Regions from separate parts of the Homo sapiens genome. Here region 2 is linked to region 1. The links are contacts of gene promoters, found by promoter capture Hi-C in blood cells and fetal thymus (Javierre and others, 2016). All regions are on one chromosome and are shown on one strand. The core of a region is centred on a gene start or on the middle of the fragment in contact, and the rest is flanking DNA. Distances in the headings are between cores, read along the strand shown. Region 1 holds the start of RPF1 (ribosome production factor 1 homolog). Region 2 overlaps LINC01461 (long intergenic non-protein coding RNA 1461).

What was found. The method cuts DNA at HindIII sites, captures the fragments that hold promoters and counts their contacts. A CHiCAGO score of 5 or more calls a contact.
Region 2: a contact is called between a fragment that was not itself captured here and the fragment with the promoter of RPF1 in region 1, in 1 of 17 cell types (neutrophils). The highest score is 13.6, in neutrophils.

The regions. Positions count from the first base shown.
Region 1 is chr1:84,474,454-84,482,008 of GRCh38, forward strand. It overlaps RPF1 (ribosome production factor 1 homolog), which reads left to right and starts at 4,813. Exons shown (of 9, transcript NM_025065.7): 1 at 4,813-5,056; 2 at 6,503-6,559. The coding sequence starts at 4,829. RefSeq lists enhancers at 4,474-5,034, 5,230-5,389. The HindIII fragment of the contact is 6,088 bases long and covers 983-7,070 here.
Region 2 is chr1:84,605,429-84,612,983 of GRCh38, forward strand. All of the region lies in intron 2 of LINC01461 (long intergenic non-protein coding RNA 1461), which reads right to left. Among named protein-coding and RNA genes, the nearest start is that of LINC01461, 12 kb to the right of the region's middle. The HindIII fragment of the contact is 3,735 bases long and covers 2,325-6,059 here.

The sequences.
Region 1 (7,555 bases), core at 3,563-6,062:
AACTTAAGGAAACTGTGGCTAACAGGGGACTACTGTATTTGGTTTTTTGCTATTGAATTGTATGAGTTCCTTATATATTTTGGATATTTACCCCTTATCAAATAATATGATTTGCAAATATTTTCTCCCATTCCATTGGTTGCTTTTTTTGTTGATTGTTTTTCCTTTGCTGTGCAGAAGTTTTTGGTTTGAAATAGTCCCATTTAGTTATTTTTGCTTTTATTACCTGTGTTTTGGTATCATATCCAGAAAACTATTGTCAAGATCAACGTCAAGGAGCTTTTTCTCTAGGTTTTCTTCTGGAACCTTTATAGTTTCAGGTCTTATGTTTAATTCTGTAATCCATTTTGAGTTGGTTTTTGTGTATTGTGTAAGAAGAAGGTCCAATTTCATTCTTTTGCATGTGGATTGTCAGTTTTCCCAACACTGTTTATTGAAGAGACTATCTTTTCTCCATTGCATATTCTTGGCACCCTTGTTGAAGATTAGTTGACCCTAGGGTTTCTTTCTGGGCTCTCTATTCTGTTTTATCAGTCTATGTGTCTATTTCAAAGGAGAGCTGACATTGTGAGAATCTAATTGACACTATGAATCCCTGTAATAACATTTCAACATACTTCCTGGGTCAGTAAATCCTGAGAAACAAACCTTGTTAGTCATTAAGATAACTTAAATAATACAATAAACAAAAAAAAGAACTCTCAGAACTTCTTAGGATAAGTGGTTTAAATGCCAACAATAGCTCTTGGGTACTACTGAAGCATCCACAGATGAGAGGTTAGTTCTATAATAGTTCTGTTATTCCCACCAGTAGAGTGTAGGGCATAATTCAAGTCAGGAAGCTTTAATTTACTTTATGTTTGTCAAAGGCCTATACAACATTGTAAATAAAAAATGTGCCAACAACCAAATTGGTTATTCCTTATTCTGATGCAATGGATTCATATTTTGTGCCTTCGGAATGGGTTTCTGTGATGTAAAAAGCTTAAGTCATACTGTAAAATAATAGGTCAAATTTTCTGAAGAGAATCTTGATTTGGATCACTGAACTCACCTGGTGCCTAAGAGTTGTATTCCAGCGTGCCCCAAATGTCAGAATCAAAACAAATAGGCAAAAATTGTATTAAGTATTAAAAGTAAGTGCTTTATTTTAAAATAACATATACTCTATTGGAAGTGGGCCTGGAAAATAATGGGCAATGAAAGAATTGGTGAGAGAAAGTGAACGGCTGAAATGAACCTCGTAAAGCACTCTACAGTGACCTCTATTCTTGTGTTTCATCTTCTTCTAAAATTGTACACTACTTAATGGCAAACATGATGCCTTTTTCTTCCACACTAGTTAGAACAGTCTCTGACACCAATAAATGGTAAAAATAGCTAGCTAGCATTTATTGAGTGTGTCTGGTTCTTTAATATACATCTTTACTCCTCTCTATACATCCTATGTGGCAGTATAATTAGCCCCAGTTTACAGACAAATTGAGACCCACAGACATTTTATGATTTAACTGAGATTTTATAGCATCTAAGTGATTGAGCCAAGATCTGAACACAACCCACCCTATTCATTTACAGAGTAGCATTTAATACATATTTGTTGAATTAATCAATGTTTTTGTGACTTAAGAATAAGGACTTATTCTGATTATAGAAATCCTTTCATTCAACTCATACAATTGTTATTATAAATACGGCATGAAGAAAAAAAAAGGAAGTCTAAGTTAAGGAGTTAATGATCTCATTTGTATGGTGCTTCTAAATAAATTTAACACTGTTATCTAAATCTATTTCAAAACTATTTTGTATTCTTATGAGAAAAGGAAATATTATATGTAGGGAGATAAAACGTTACAGTTAGAAGAGACTTTCAAAATATTTTCTCAGTCTGTATTTCCAGGATGGAGATTTACTTATTCCCCTTCTTCTTCTTCTCCCCCTCCTCTTGTTCTTTTATTTATTTATTTATTTATTTATTTATTTATTTATTTATTTTTAAGACAGGGTCCTTCTGTCACCCAGGCTGGAGTGCAGTGATGCAATCACAGCTCACTGCAACCTTGAATTCCTGGGCTTAAGCTATTCTCCCACCTTGGCCTATCAAAGTGTTGGGATTACAGGCATGAGCCACAGCCCCAGGACTACTCTTCCTTTTTGACTTGATTACCCCCCTTTAAATAAACTATATATGAAATTTTATGGTTTTGGGGTTTTTTTTGTTTTGTTTTGTTTTTTGAGATGGAGTCTCACTCTGTCACCCAGGCTGGAGTACAATGGCACCATCTCAGCTCACTGCAACCTCCGCCTCCCAGGTTCAAGCAATTCTCCTGTCTCAGCCTCCTGAGTAGTTGGGATTACAGGCAACTGTCACCACATCCAGCGAATTTTTCTATTTTTAGTAGAGATGGGGTTTCACCATGTTGGCCAGGCTGGTCTCGAACTCCTGACCTCAAGTGATCCACCCACCTCAGCCTCCCAAAGTGCTGGGATTACAGGCATGAGCCACCATGTCCAGATAAATTTTATGATTTACTGCAGCCAAATCTATATGTCAGTGATTTTAAAACTCAATGCTATTTTTTTCCTTTTTTTGTATTATATAACTTAAATCCAATTTTGGATCTAAACATAATGATTTTAAGTTTTTTAACAACAATTTTCAATTTGTGATCTAATAGCAGGTTTGGATGGAGCTTGTGTTCTGGAAGACACAGTTTTGATGCTTTTAATATCCTGCTGTTGTTAAATAGAATTTGAATGGGTGAAAAATGAAATGTGGACAAAAACATATTGGATTCTCAAAACACGAAATATAGATATTGGTACATAAAATTTGAAATTAAGGCAGATTCTGGAAAACTGACTCCTAACAGTAAATCAAAAGGGATTTCTTGTTGCTATTTGGAAAGCATTTTCATAAAATTAGAATGAAGAATACAGCAAATTTAACCACTAGGAAAACACTTTCTTCACTTGCCTTCCATGACATTCTACTCTCTTGATTTTCTCTTCTCCTTCTCCTTTGCTGGGTCCTCCTTTTCTTTCCATCTCTTCATGCAGGACTCCTCCAGGGTTCAGTCCTTGATCTTCTTTTTTCAGTTTTCTATCTACACTCATTCTAATGGTTTGAAATACTACCTATGTGCCAATTACTTCCAAAGTTTGATCTTTAGCCCACACCTCTCTGTCCTGCTGCAGAATCATACATCCCAACTGACTAGTTGACACCACCAATCAGATCACTAAAAAGTATCTCAAACTTAACATTTCCAAAACTGAAATCTTGATCTTACCTCTCAGATTTGTTCCATCTGAACTTTCCCGCATTTCACCTGATGGTAACTCCATCCTTTGAATCACTCAGGTCGAAAGTCTTGGAGTCATCCTTGACTCTTTCATGTCCTCCCTTCAGTTCCATCAGTAACTTTACCTTCCAGAGGAATCACTTCTCAACCACCTACACAAGACTTACCCTGGTTCAGGCCACTATCATTTCTTCCCTTCTTCCACACACCCTGCCCCTGCATAGGCTCTTCTCAAAAGAAGATTCTGAATGACGCTTTTACTTTATTTTTATTTATTTTTTTGAGAGGGTCTCACCCTCTCACCCAGGCTGGAATGCAGTGGCACCAACATGGCTCATTGCAACCTAGCCTTCCAGGCTCAATGGATCCTACTGCCTCAGCCTCCTGAGTAGCTGGGACCACAGATGTACACCATGCCCAAACAGATATATATATTTTTTTACTTTTTGTAGACATGGGGTCTCACAGTGTTGCCAAAGCTGGTCTTGAACTCCCAGGCTCAAGCAATCCTCCTGCCTTGGCCTCCCAAAGTGCTAAAATTACAGGCATGGGCCACTGCACCAGCCTGATACTTTTAAGATGTTAAGATCATACCATTCTTTTCCTCAAAATTCTATAAGAGATCTTCATCTCACATAAAATAAAAGCCAAAGTCCTTACAAAACTCTACACCACCTGTCCAATCTCAACACTTCTTGCCTTTCCTGGCTTGCTACTGACTAGGAGCATTGGAGCTGGCTGTTTGCTTTGCCAGGACAGCTTTTCTCCTTGATAACCAGCTTTTCTCAGATTAACAGCTCTTCCCTCAGATAACTAGTTTAGCCCATTACCTCCTTCAAACCTTGGCTCAATGTAACGTTTTCAATGAAGCCTACTCTGAGAATCCTATTTAAAATTGCAACGTACTTTGGGAGTCCAGGGCGGACAGATCACCTGAAATCAAGAGTACAAGACCAGCCTGGCCAACATGGTGAAACTCCATCTCTGCAAAAATACAAAAATTAGCCGGGCATGGTGGCACGTGTTTGTAGTCCCAGCTACTCAGGAGGAGGAGTTTGCAGTGATCGGAGATCGTGCCACTGCACTCCAGCCTGGGCATTAAAGCAAGGCTCCGTCTCAAAAAGATGAATGTCTCTTCATCTTCTTTTATCCTGTTCTATTTTTTTTCCATACCATGTCTTACTCTGTAGCTCACCATAATTTATTTGTATGCTCATTTTAGGTTTCCCTCAAGTAAAACGTAAACTAATCCAGGCACGGTTTTTGTTGTTGTTCCATTATTTTGAGGGCTGGGCACATAGATGCGCAAGGAGTGCCCAAACTCATCATCTCACTCTTTATACAGCTGGGCAAACTGCCTAAAGTTTCCTCAAGCCTCAGCTTTACTATTTTCTTGAATGGCTAAAACTCACAAAACACATCTAGCGTCAAAAACTTTGCGACCCCGGAAGTAAAAGGTTAAGGAAGGGGGTCACAGGAGAAGGCTATTTCCGTTTCCGTACGGAAGCAAAGGAGCCAAGACCATGGCGAAAGCCGGGGATAAGAGCAGCAGCAGCGGGAAGAAAAGTCTAAAACGGAAAGCCGCTGCCGAAGAACTTCAGGAGGCTGCAGGCGCTGGGGATGGGGCGACGGAAAACGGGGTCCAACCCCCGAAAGCGGCTGCCTTTCCGCCAGGCTTTAGCATTTCGGAGATTAAAAACAAACAGCGGCGACACTTAATGTTCACGCGGTGGAAACAGCAGCAGCGGAAGGTACGCGAGAGGCGGGGGCTGCCGGGCGCTTGCGCGTTGTTCCTGACGCTTAGGGCGGTCGCGGGGCGCACATCTGTGGTTGTCTGCTGGTCTCAAAAGTGTTCTCTGTGGCTCCGTGGGAAGGGTGGCGTCGCGGCCCACGTGTTCTGGTCCCCTCGCCCTAGTTTGGAGACTCTAGGTTCAGCCTTTTGCCTGAGCGTCAAGGTGGAAGATTATCTTGATAGGCTCTTTCCTGGGACGCTAGATTCACAAGGAAAGCTGTAAGGCCAGTTGGCTTAGTAGTGAAAACTACGCCCTCCTGGCCCAGAAGGCAAAAGTCTCAGCCCTTTGGTCCGTCTAGGTAGCGTTGGTTAATTTGCAGAATCTGAAATGGAGGCAATACGTAATAAATCCAAAATACTGCTTCTCTGATTCCTGCAGGAGCTCCTTACCGAAATTAGTACTGTAAAGTTTCTGGTAATTGTATTTGTTCTTTTCAGCTTTATCCTTATACGTTTCTGGTAGGTAAACAAACTGAAACGTAAAGAGGTTTAAACGACTTGTCAAGGTCGCAGTGCTCATTTCTGGTTAAATTGCAATTGGAAGAAAACGTTTGCTTATTCTTGCACATCGTAGAAGTTCACACAATATTATTATTATGTGTCTGCCTCCTCTTACTGGCCCTTCTGAGGCCCGGGACTGGTTCTTACTCATGTTCAGTGTCAAGGTGCTGTTTCAATACATACAAGGGGCGTTTAACTCATTCTGGTATGCACGTATTGGGGAGGGATGTCCTGGAAGACTTATTGGAGCTATGATTTCTAATCTGAAACCTGGTGGATTGAGGATCAGTAGGTGCTGGGGAAAAAAGAATATTTTTTATTTTGTCAAGCATTCTATCTAGAAATCTCCAGAAGAATATATAGATTGACAATACAAATACAGATAATCTTAAGCCACCTTGCAAGCTCTTACTAAATTTTAGAAGTATATTTTGATTATAAAATATGTGAATAACTGGTGATGGTTTTATGGAAAACAACCTGAAAACTCAGCTCCCATTCCTATTTTTAGTGCTTTTCAAGAGAAGCAAGCAGCATAACCATGGTCGTCTTTAGGATGCCACCAGTTAGGCAAAACAAAACACAGTGGAAACCATCACATACTTTAATTAATTTGAGGCTTTATGGAAAAAGGTTAAGCTACTCAAATTTTAAATGTTCAAACTTGCCAGTTTAGATTTTTTTAAAGGAGCAGGTCTTTGTTAAAGAAATCTTATTGATTGGCCAGCTCATTTGGCTTACAGTAATTTAGGTAGAAAACTCCACGTCCAGATGCTTATTTCAATAGATTACAAAGACCGCCCAGTTCGAGTATTCATAGCATTAGTAATTTGTAGTTTCAGTATGTGTTTGTGATATAACTGGTTGTTTCTCAGTATTGTTCTCTTTTTTTTTAACCCTTTAGGAAAAGTTGGCAGCTAAGAAAAAACTTAAAAAAGAAAGAGAGGCTCTTGGCGATAAGGTAAATAAAATTTTTAGCTGTTTGCTTTCTATCTTATATTAGGGAATCCCTCCTGATATTTAAGTTGAATTACTTTCTTTTAAAATTTATTATTACGTATTTCAGATGTATGAAGAAATACAAAAGTAATATAATAAACCTCTTTGTATCATTTACCCAGCTTAAGAAATAATGCATTAGCAAAGAATGTTGGAAGCCCCTCGTCTGCTTCATAATTGCTTTTCCCTCCGAAGATAACCACTCGTGAAATTTTTGATTATTTTTTCCATGCACTTCTTTTACCTTTACTGTGTATGTTTGTGTACCTATACGGTAACACAGTGGTGGTATTTTGCATATAACTTTGTGTTTCAGAGGTCAACACCTCTCCCTGACTTTGGGAATGGGGAAGCTCCCCCAGGTTAGGCCTGGAGCTTGGCTCTTGTCATGTGAAGCAAAGATTTTTGGTCAGGCAAGGCTGGGGAAAGGCAGGACAGATCCTCTTCTGGAGTAGGGTGATAAGGGTGTGTTAAGCTTTAGAGCTGGTACAGAGGATATGAACCTGTGAAAAGTGAGAATGGGGAGTGGGAGGACGGTGAGGATTATGGCAGAGAAAAGAGCAGATAATGCATCAAGAAAGAATTTGGCTGTATTTGTGGTACTCATAAGAAGTGAAATCTTTATTGAAAAAATTTTTTAAACTACTAAATGCTCATACATTATTGCATAGCTAAGTTATTTTTATTTTCAGTGTATTTATAGTTACTCCTAGGTTGTGATTTATTTTTGCAAAATTTTGAAAACATTCATGTCTCCGCCTCCCATTCAAGTAAGTTACCAAATAAGGGTGTTTGAGGAAGGGAAAAAAATGTAAAGACAGTATACAAACTAAACACTCTACTATTTCATACATTCTTTGAATAGTATTAGGTTAAACCATAGAAAATTGTCAATAGTAGACTGTTTTGACCTGCAGTATCCTAGTATGTCAAGCATGTTAGTCTCTTTTTAATTCTT
Region 2 (7,555 bases), core at 2,942-5,441, 130 kb after region 1:
CACCCTGGGTCACACCAAAAAGAACAAGGAGACTGAGGGATGCCTCTCCTCTTGTCTCTTTTCCAGGATGGGTAGCAAGTCATTTTGGCTTGCACTCTGCTGGAGTACATTTTGAACTCCTTTGACACCCAAACTCTGAAGAAAAAGTGGCTCATTTTCTGTTGCACAAGGGTGTGGCCTTCTTACCCTCTCAGGAATGAACAGACCTGGCCAGCTAAAGGGAACCTTAACTTTAATCTTATCCAGCAATTAGATCTCTTCTGTAGATGGAAGAGCAAATGGTCCAAGGTTCTCTATGTGCAGGCTTCCTTTGCCCTGCGAGACAACCCAGACCTTTGCAAGCATTGCAAAACCAACTCAGCCCTCTTAGCAATCATATCAGACAGGTCTGTGGAGAGTAGTTCCCCTAAGTCAGAAGAGCAAGTTTTGGAGGAACCATTAGAGGCAGCTTCTAAGTGCCCCAGTCCTTCCAGTCCCCTTTGTCCAGGGCCCCCTCCAGCTGCACCATCAGCTCCTCCAGCTCCACCATCTCCAAAGCTCCCCACTGCCCAGACTTCACTCCTACCCCTACAAGAAATGCCAGATGGAAGGGGCACCATTAAGGTACTTATTCCCTTCTCATTGCAGGACCTTAGGCAGATAAATGGGCTGATTTCTTGATAACCCTAATAGATATATAGAGGCCTTCCAAAATTTAACTTAAGTGTTTTACCTCACATGGAGGGATGTTGTGCTGTTGTTTCTCAGCCAAACCCTCACTGCAGCTGAAAAGCAGACAGCTCTGCAAGCAGCAGAAAAGTTCGGAGATGAACAACATGTTCCCTATAGTGACCAAAAAGGAAAAGGGGAGATAAGGAAGGTGAGGAAATAACAGAAAAAAACAATCTCAATAGGGAGAGAGGCTATACCTCTTGACAATCCTGACTGGAATCCCTGTGACCCCATAGATGAATGGAAAAGGAAATACTTTTTAATGTGCATATCAGAGGGCCTAAGAAGGACTAGGACCAAACCTCTTAATTACTCTAAACTGTCCTTATTGAATCAGAAACCAGATAAAAATCTCCCTACCTTTTTGGAAAGGCTGAGAGAAGCTTTAATAAAACACACCTCCCTGTCTTCCAATTCAACAAAAAACAGGTTCATCACTCAGGCAGCCCCTGATATCAAAAGGAAGTTGCTGAAACAGGCCATGTCTAAAAATCTTTCTAGTTTTTCTCACTCTCAAGTTGAAACTTTGCAGTATGTAAATGACACTCTCCTCTGTGCCCCATTCAAGGATGTCTCAGGAAGGCACTAAGACTCTTCTCAATTTCTTAGCTAAAAGGGAGTATAGGGTCTCAAAATCTAAAGCTCAGCTCTGTCAAACTTCAGTAAAGTACCTAGGCCTAATCTTATCAGAAGTGTGGGGGATCGGTCAGGGTGGTGAAAAAACTATAGGGAAAGGACACAAACCTTCTGAAAGGTCGGAAGTTTCTGCAGAGCCCCAGGGAAGAATGGCTGAAGACAGCTGTTCTATAACCCTAAGGCAGAGGGCAAGGAGTAGGTACAAGGGAGTGTGGGGGAATTTATCTTAAACCGGTTTGTTTACTTATGTTGACCAGGAACTGACCTTGGATCATCCCCATGCAACATTCCCTGAAAGGGGAACAATAAATGTTAATTACCTGCAGGTTGTGTTGGCTCCAGGTTTTCGGCATTGTGCCTGCACTGAATAAAAGCAAACAGCTCCAGCTTCTCGGGACTGCTGTCTGGCCACTGGAGCCAGGCAGTCACCTAGCTGCTCTTACACTGCATACCTGTGTCTGAGTACTCATTTCACCCATCGGCCAAGGTCTGTGGGACAGACACAGCACAGAAGGAACCAGAGTACCAGGTGAGGAAAGGATTAACCCCGTTTCCTTTAAGAGTTAAGAAAATTATTGGGCATTACTGAATTTTGCAAAATGTGGGCATTACTGAATTTTGCAAAATGTGGGCACCAGGGTATGGTGAAATAGCTCATCCTTTATACCAACTCTTAAAAGAAACTCAAGCAGCTCCCTAACTTGGGAACCTAAAACACAAAAGCCTTAAACCAGCTAAAGCAAGCCTTGCTTAAAGCACCAGTTCTCAGCCTTCCCATAGGGAAGGTATTTAATCTTTATGTATATTGGAAAGGAAGAAAATAGCCCTGGGAGTTTTGACTAAGACTGGAGGTCCAGCTCTACAGCCAATGGGTTAACAATGGGGAATAACTTAACTGTTTAGCTCCACGCAATATAACAAGACTACTGTCCTCTAAGGAAAGTCTGGCTAACAGACAATTGCCTCCTCAAATATCAAGCTTTGCTGCTAAAGGGATCTGCAGTCCAGTTGAAAACCTGCCACTTCCTGAGCCCAGCCACTTTCTCCCAGAGAAAACTGGAGAACCTAAACATGATTGTGAACAAGTAGTGGTGCAAACTGGGGGAAAAATGGTAAGAATCACTGTTTATCTTCACTGTAAAGTTTTATTTGTGAAAAAGGATTTTCCTAAAGAGCACTCAGCTTAATTCAAAGTGGATATCAAACCTATGGGTATATTTTAAAGGCCTTTATGTTTTTCTCTTTATAGATCTTGTTTTCCTGGAAAAGGTCTTTTTTTCTCAGTCAACTGAGAAAACTGTGACTTACCACTCTTGGTGCATGCATGAAAGACCCTAGAATGACTTCTGGTAGCCTGGGACTCCTTGGGAAAACAGAAAAGGTGCCACAAATCCCATTTTGGGAAAAATCTGTTTTCCTCATGGAACACCTGGAATTAAAGGTGAATAAGTAGTTCTCAAAATCTATCTTTGTCTTCCAGCTTTGCTTGTTTATTAGGCCCTGGAAACTGTATTCCTAGCCCTGTTCTTAAAGGGTCTCACCAGGAGGCTAATAATCCAATTGGGAAATTAGCAAATGAAAAATTTTAGAACCACTGGATCTTTTTCTGTTTGTCTGTGTGGTTATATATGTGTTATGTGTGTAATGTCTATTTGAAAAGAGCTCCAATTAATTGGACTAAGAAAAATAAGCACTTAAATAAAGTATTTTTAAAGAAAAAGTAAAAGCTGTGGTACCTTTCAGTTCACACAACTTTAATCTTCAAAAATAAAAACAGTCTTAGAAACTATTGGTAAAATACAAATGTCTTCAGGATGTAAAAATGTGATCTAAATTATGCAGGTCAGATACTAGGTTTGATAAATGTTTTAAGGTTGTAACTGCTTTTTTAGCCTTTAAATATTGTCTACTTGCCTGCTTCACAATTGGTAAGGCCTGGGAACATATGGAAGTAACCATGCCCCTAATGATGCTGAAAGCAGTCAAACTTTATCTGCATCTAGCACATAATTAAAACAACCTACCAGGTTTTACATCAAAGTTAAAAATTGCTAAGTGTTACCATTATGACATGTAATGAGACTAGTGAACATGGATTTGCATGCAAGGTGTGTAAAAAAACAGTAAAAGCTGTTTTTAATTAAAGATAAGAAGGCATGAAAATGTACATTTTGCCTAGCCATAAAGGATTGTCTTAAATAAAATAAAGCAGAAGGTTTAAGCAAATTGTAAAAAGATTGTAAAAACTAATCTTGCAAAGGAAACTCTGTGTATGAACATATTAACTAATTTCAAAGGGGTATTATATAGTTTTATAAATTAAGGATTAAAATGCAAGCACAGGGTTTTCTTAAAATGCTGATCTACTCTTTAGCAAAATTTGTAGAGGGTCATAAAAGGTTTGTGTAAATCTCACCTCATGGTCAAACTGGTTAAGATTGAATAGGATTGTCTATAAAGTTTCATTAAAAATCAGGGTTAACATTAATAGCAAACAAATGCAAGGGTGAAATTTAACATTCTCTCTTGAATAGGATTTTCATGTAATAGAAAGGGCTGATGAATGGTTTTTGCTTTTTCAAATTTTTGACTCATAATTTTGGCAAAACAAAAAACTTACAGTAATCTAATATCAAGTGTTTTAAATTTTGAACATATTTAACAGGCTTCCCAAAATCAAACTTTAGTTTCAAGGTTGTCTTTCCTAGCCCCTAGCTTTTTGTTCTGCACAGGGCTCCTAGAACATCCAGAAGAGAGGTAAATAGGATTATTTAACTTGTTTAGGTACATGGAATTGCCAAAATGATGTCTAATACTCTTCAGGTTATATTTTAGGGAATAATATTAACATATGTTCCAAAACTGTATGGAATGTCTAAGGTACTAGTGTCTGAATAATACGCGCTATTAATCACAATTAAGGTTGTTATGTTAGGTTATTGTAAGCCACAGAAACAACCAAATTTGTCAATCATGTTCTTGACTGTAACCACCCTGGACATTTTGTCATTTACAAACAATTGTTGTCTTGTTTGAATCTTTTTCTTAAAAAAAATAGTTTCTAATCAGCTGTGGAACTTACATAGGTGCTCTTAAATGCAGGTTTTTGATTAAAAAATGTATAGGACTCATACAAAGCTGAAATGTTTATGAATAACAAGCAGATCAAGAGTTAATGGAATGGGCTGAACTAATAGAAAACTAAAGCAATATTCTTGATTTATGCTTGTAACACTGGTGATCCTTATTTTGTTTTTCAGAGTCAAGGAAATTTTCTTAAAAGCCTTTAAGAACTAAGTAAACTATACTCCTGTAAACAATGTTTGGAGCATGTTTGTTTCTCTCTGCCTAGTTCTTCTAGAATTTGGAAACTAGTTATAAGTATTCTTGAATTACAACTATATAGTTATTTGCATCAGTGCAACAAGAATCCATTTTCTTTTGCAACAAAACACAATTGGAAAAACTGATTGTTTTACCAAGGCTTTGACTTCAAGGCTTTGACTTGCAGAGCCAATGAAAGCCCTTTGGGAAAACTGGCTGCATACCTTGTCTACACAGTCTCTGTACAGTGTTCCTGACCTGTGGTGCGTAAAGAATGTCACTTTCTAACAGGCCCGGAAACCCCATGCTCCTGGAACCTCAAGAAGAAAGAAGTTTATCCAACTCACAGGTATTTGAGGGTACAAACTCATGGCTGGGCTTGGCTTCAAAAAGTCCTATCCAAGATTCCTTGTGGAACAGAGTTCTATCAAAACCAATCAAAATACACAGAGGTAATTATTCTTGCTGTACTTTTTGCAGATAATCAGGCCAAGTATAGGACTAAAGTTTATTCTGCAACCAGCTCAGTCCTATCATAAGTTGTTTTTCATAAAAATGAGAACTGGAGAGAGAAATTATGTTCCACACTTACTGTACATCTGTGATATAGTTTGGCTCTATGTCCCCACCCAAATCTCATCTTGAATTGTACTCCCAGAATTGTGGGAAGGACCCAGTGGGAGATAATTGAATCATGGGGGCAGTTTCACCCATACTGTTCTCATGGTAGATAAGTCTCATGAGATCTGATGGTTTGATAAAGGGAAACCTGTTTTGCTTAGCTCTCATTTCTCTCTTGCCACCACCATGTAAGACATGCCTTTTGCCTTCCACCATGATTGTGAGGCCTTCCTATCCAAGTGGAACTGTAAGTCCATTAAACCTCCTTCTTTTGTAAATTGCCCAGTCTCAGGTATGTCTTTATCAGCAGCGTGAAAATGGACTAATACAATCTGTCATTGACTTCTAGTCTCATTAGTTGTTTGTAAGTTCTTGCCAACATTTTAAACTAATCATGCTTATTCCTGTAAACCAATCATCAATCTCCAGCTGTGGCTCAAAGGAGACAGAAAGGAATGGGTAATATAAAAATCTGGAACAATGTGCTAGTTCTGGGCACTTATGCTGCAAATCCTGCCAGGTAACCTATAACCCCAAGGTTTCCTTTTCTGGCGGGGACAGTAAGACCAAGGGAGCTAAACAAAGCCAAGCCCCATACACCCAGTTACAACAGCACAACCCATCTAAATGGCTCACAGATATCAAACAAACTCTGTTGTCATGGTTATGGCCTATAGTGCCTCACTAATAATGGTAGTCTTATATATATTTGGACCCTATATTCTAAACCTCCTTGTAAAGTTTCTCTTCTCACCTAGAAACCATCAAGCTTCAGATGGTGCTGCAAATGGAGCCAAAAAGGAAACCACCCTTCTACCAGGGACCCTTAGATCGACCCCAGGAGGAGCCCTAGATGCTGTTCCCGTACCACGCCCTCTCCAGCGGGAAGTAGCCAGAAGAAGTTGTTGCCCAATTCCCCCTAACAGCAGTTAGGGATTCCATTCCTGAGGGGGAAATATGTTATACAAGACAGACAGAATTTATTTAGGTAGACAGTTAGGGTAAAGCGAGTCCCCAGCAGAAACTTTTCTTCTAACAAAAAGCAGCTCAGAAATAGCTCTCTTTCTAACCTCATGCAGTTCAAAGAAATCACTTCTCTTCTAACAAAGAACAGCTTGAAAGATCAGGCTGTAAAAACAAACAACTCGGGCACAGAAGGACAGGGGGAGTCCCCTGGGTAATCACCAAACTTCACACTCCTACAATGGACCCCAGTAAAAACCGTGGGCCTTAATAAGCACATTCCTTTCCCTTTAAGCACACTAAGATAGAGAAACTAAAAGCGGATTGTGGGGAGATGCCTGCAGCTGCAGGAAGATGTCTGGGAACAGACACAGAAACTCTCCCTCCCAGATAAGCAAAACAAAGCAGCACAAAGCAGCAAGGACTGAGTCTGCCTATGTGATCAAGGAAATGAGGTAAGAACTGATAGAAAACTCTGCTCTATGCACATAGGACACCTGGTCCCAACTAAATCTTCAGGCCTTAGGAAGATAAGACACTCCCTCTTTTTTTTCTTTTTTTTTTTTAAGAGAGAGTTGCTCTGTCGCCAGGCTGGAGTGCAGTGGCATGATCTTGGCTCACTGCAACCTCCGCCTCCCAGGTTCAAGCAATTCTCCTGCCTCAGCCTTCCGAGTAGCTGGGACTACAGGTACGCACCACCACACCCAGCTAATTTTTGTATTTTTAGTAGAGACAGGGTTTCACCATGTTGGCCAGGATGGTCTCGATCTCTTGACCTCGTGATCTGCCCGCCTCAGCCTCCCAAAGTGCTAAGATTACAGGTGTGAGCCACCGTACCTGGCCAACCCTGACATTTTTACTAAAACTTGACAACCTGCTCTGGACCCCTCTCTGTGACAGAGAGCTGTTCTTTCCTTTTGCCTATTAAACTCCTGCTCCAATCTCACTCTGTGTGTGTGTCTGTGACCTCAATTTCCTTGACTGTGAGACCAAGGACCCTGGTATTTACCCCAGACAATGAGGCTCCTTCAGTGAGATTAGAGGCATGAGCTACCACATAGCCGGAGTCTACATACTCTTAACCCTCTGGTCTAAGAGAGGAGGCAGCTTTGGAGCCATTATCAATATTCACGAGTTCGACAAACATTGCCTCAGCAACTCCACCTTGCCAGACTGAGAATACAAATAGAAATGCAGAAAGGGTCAGATGCAATGACAGCTGCTTATATTCCTGTTCTCAAGGAGGGCACATTTTATCAGGAAAAAGAGATCTGTAATCAATAAATATGATTCCTCTAAG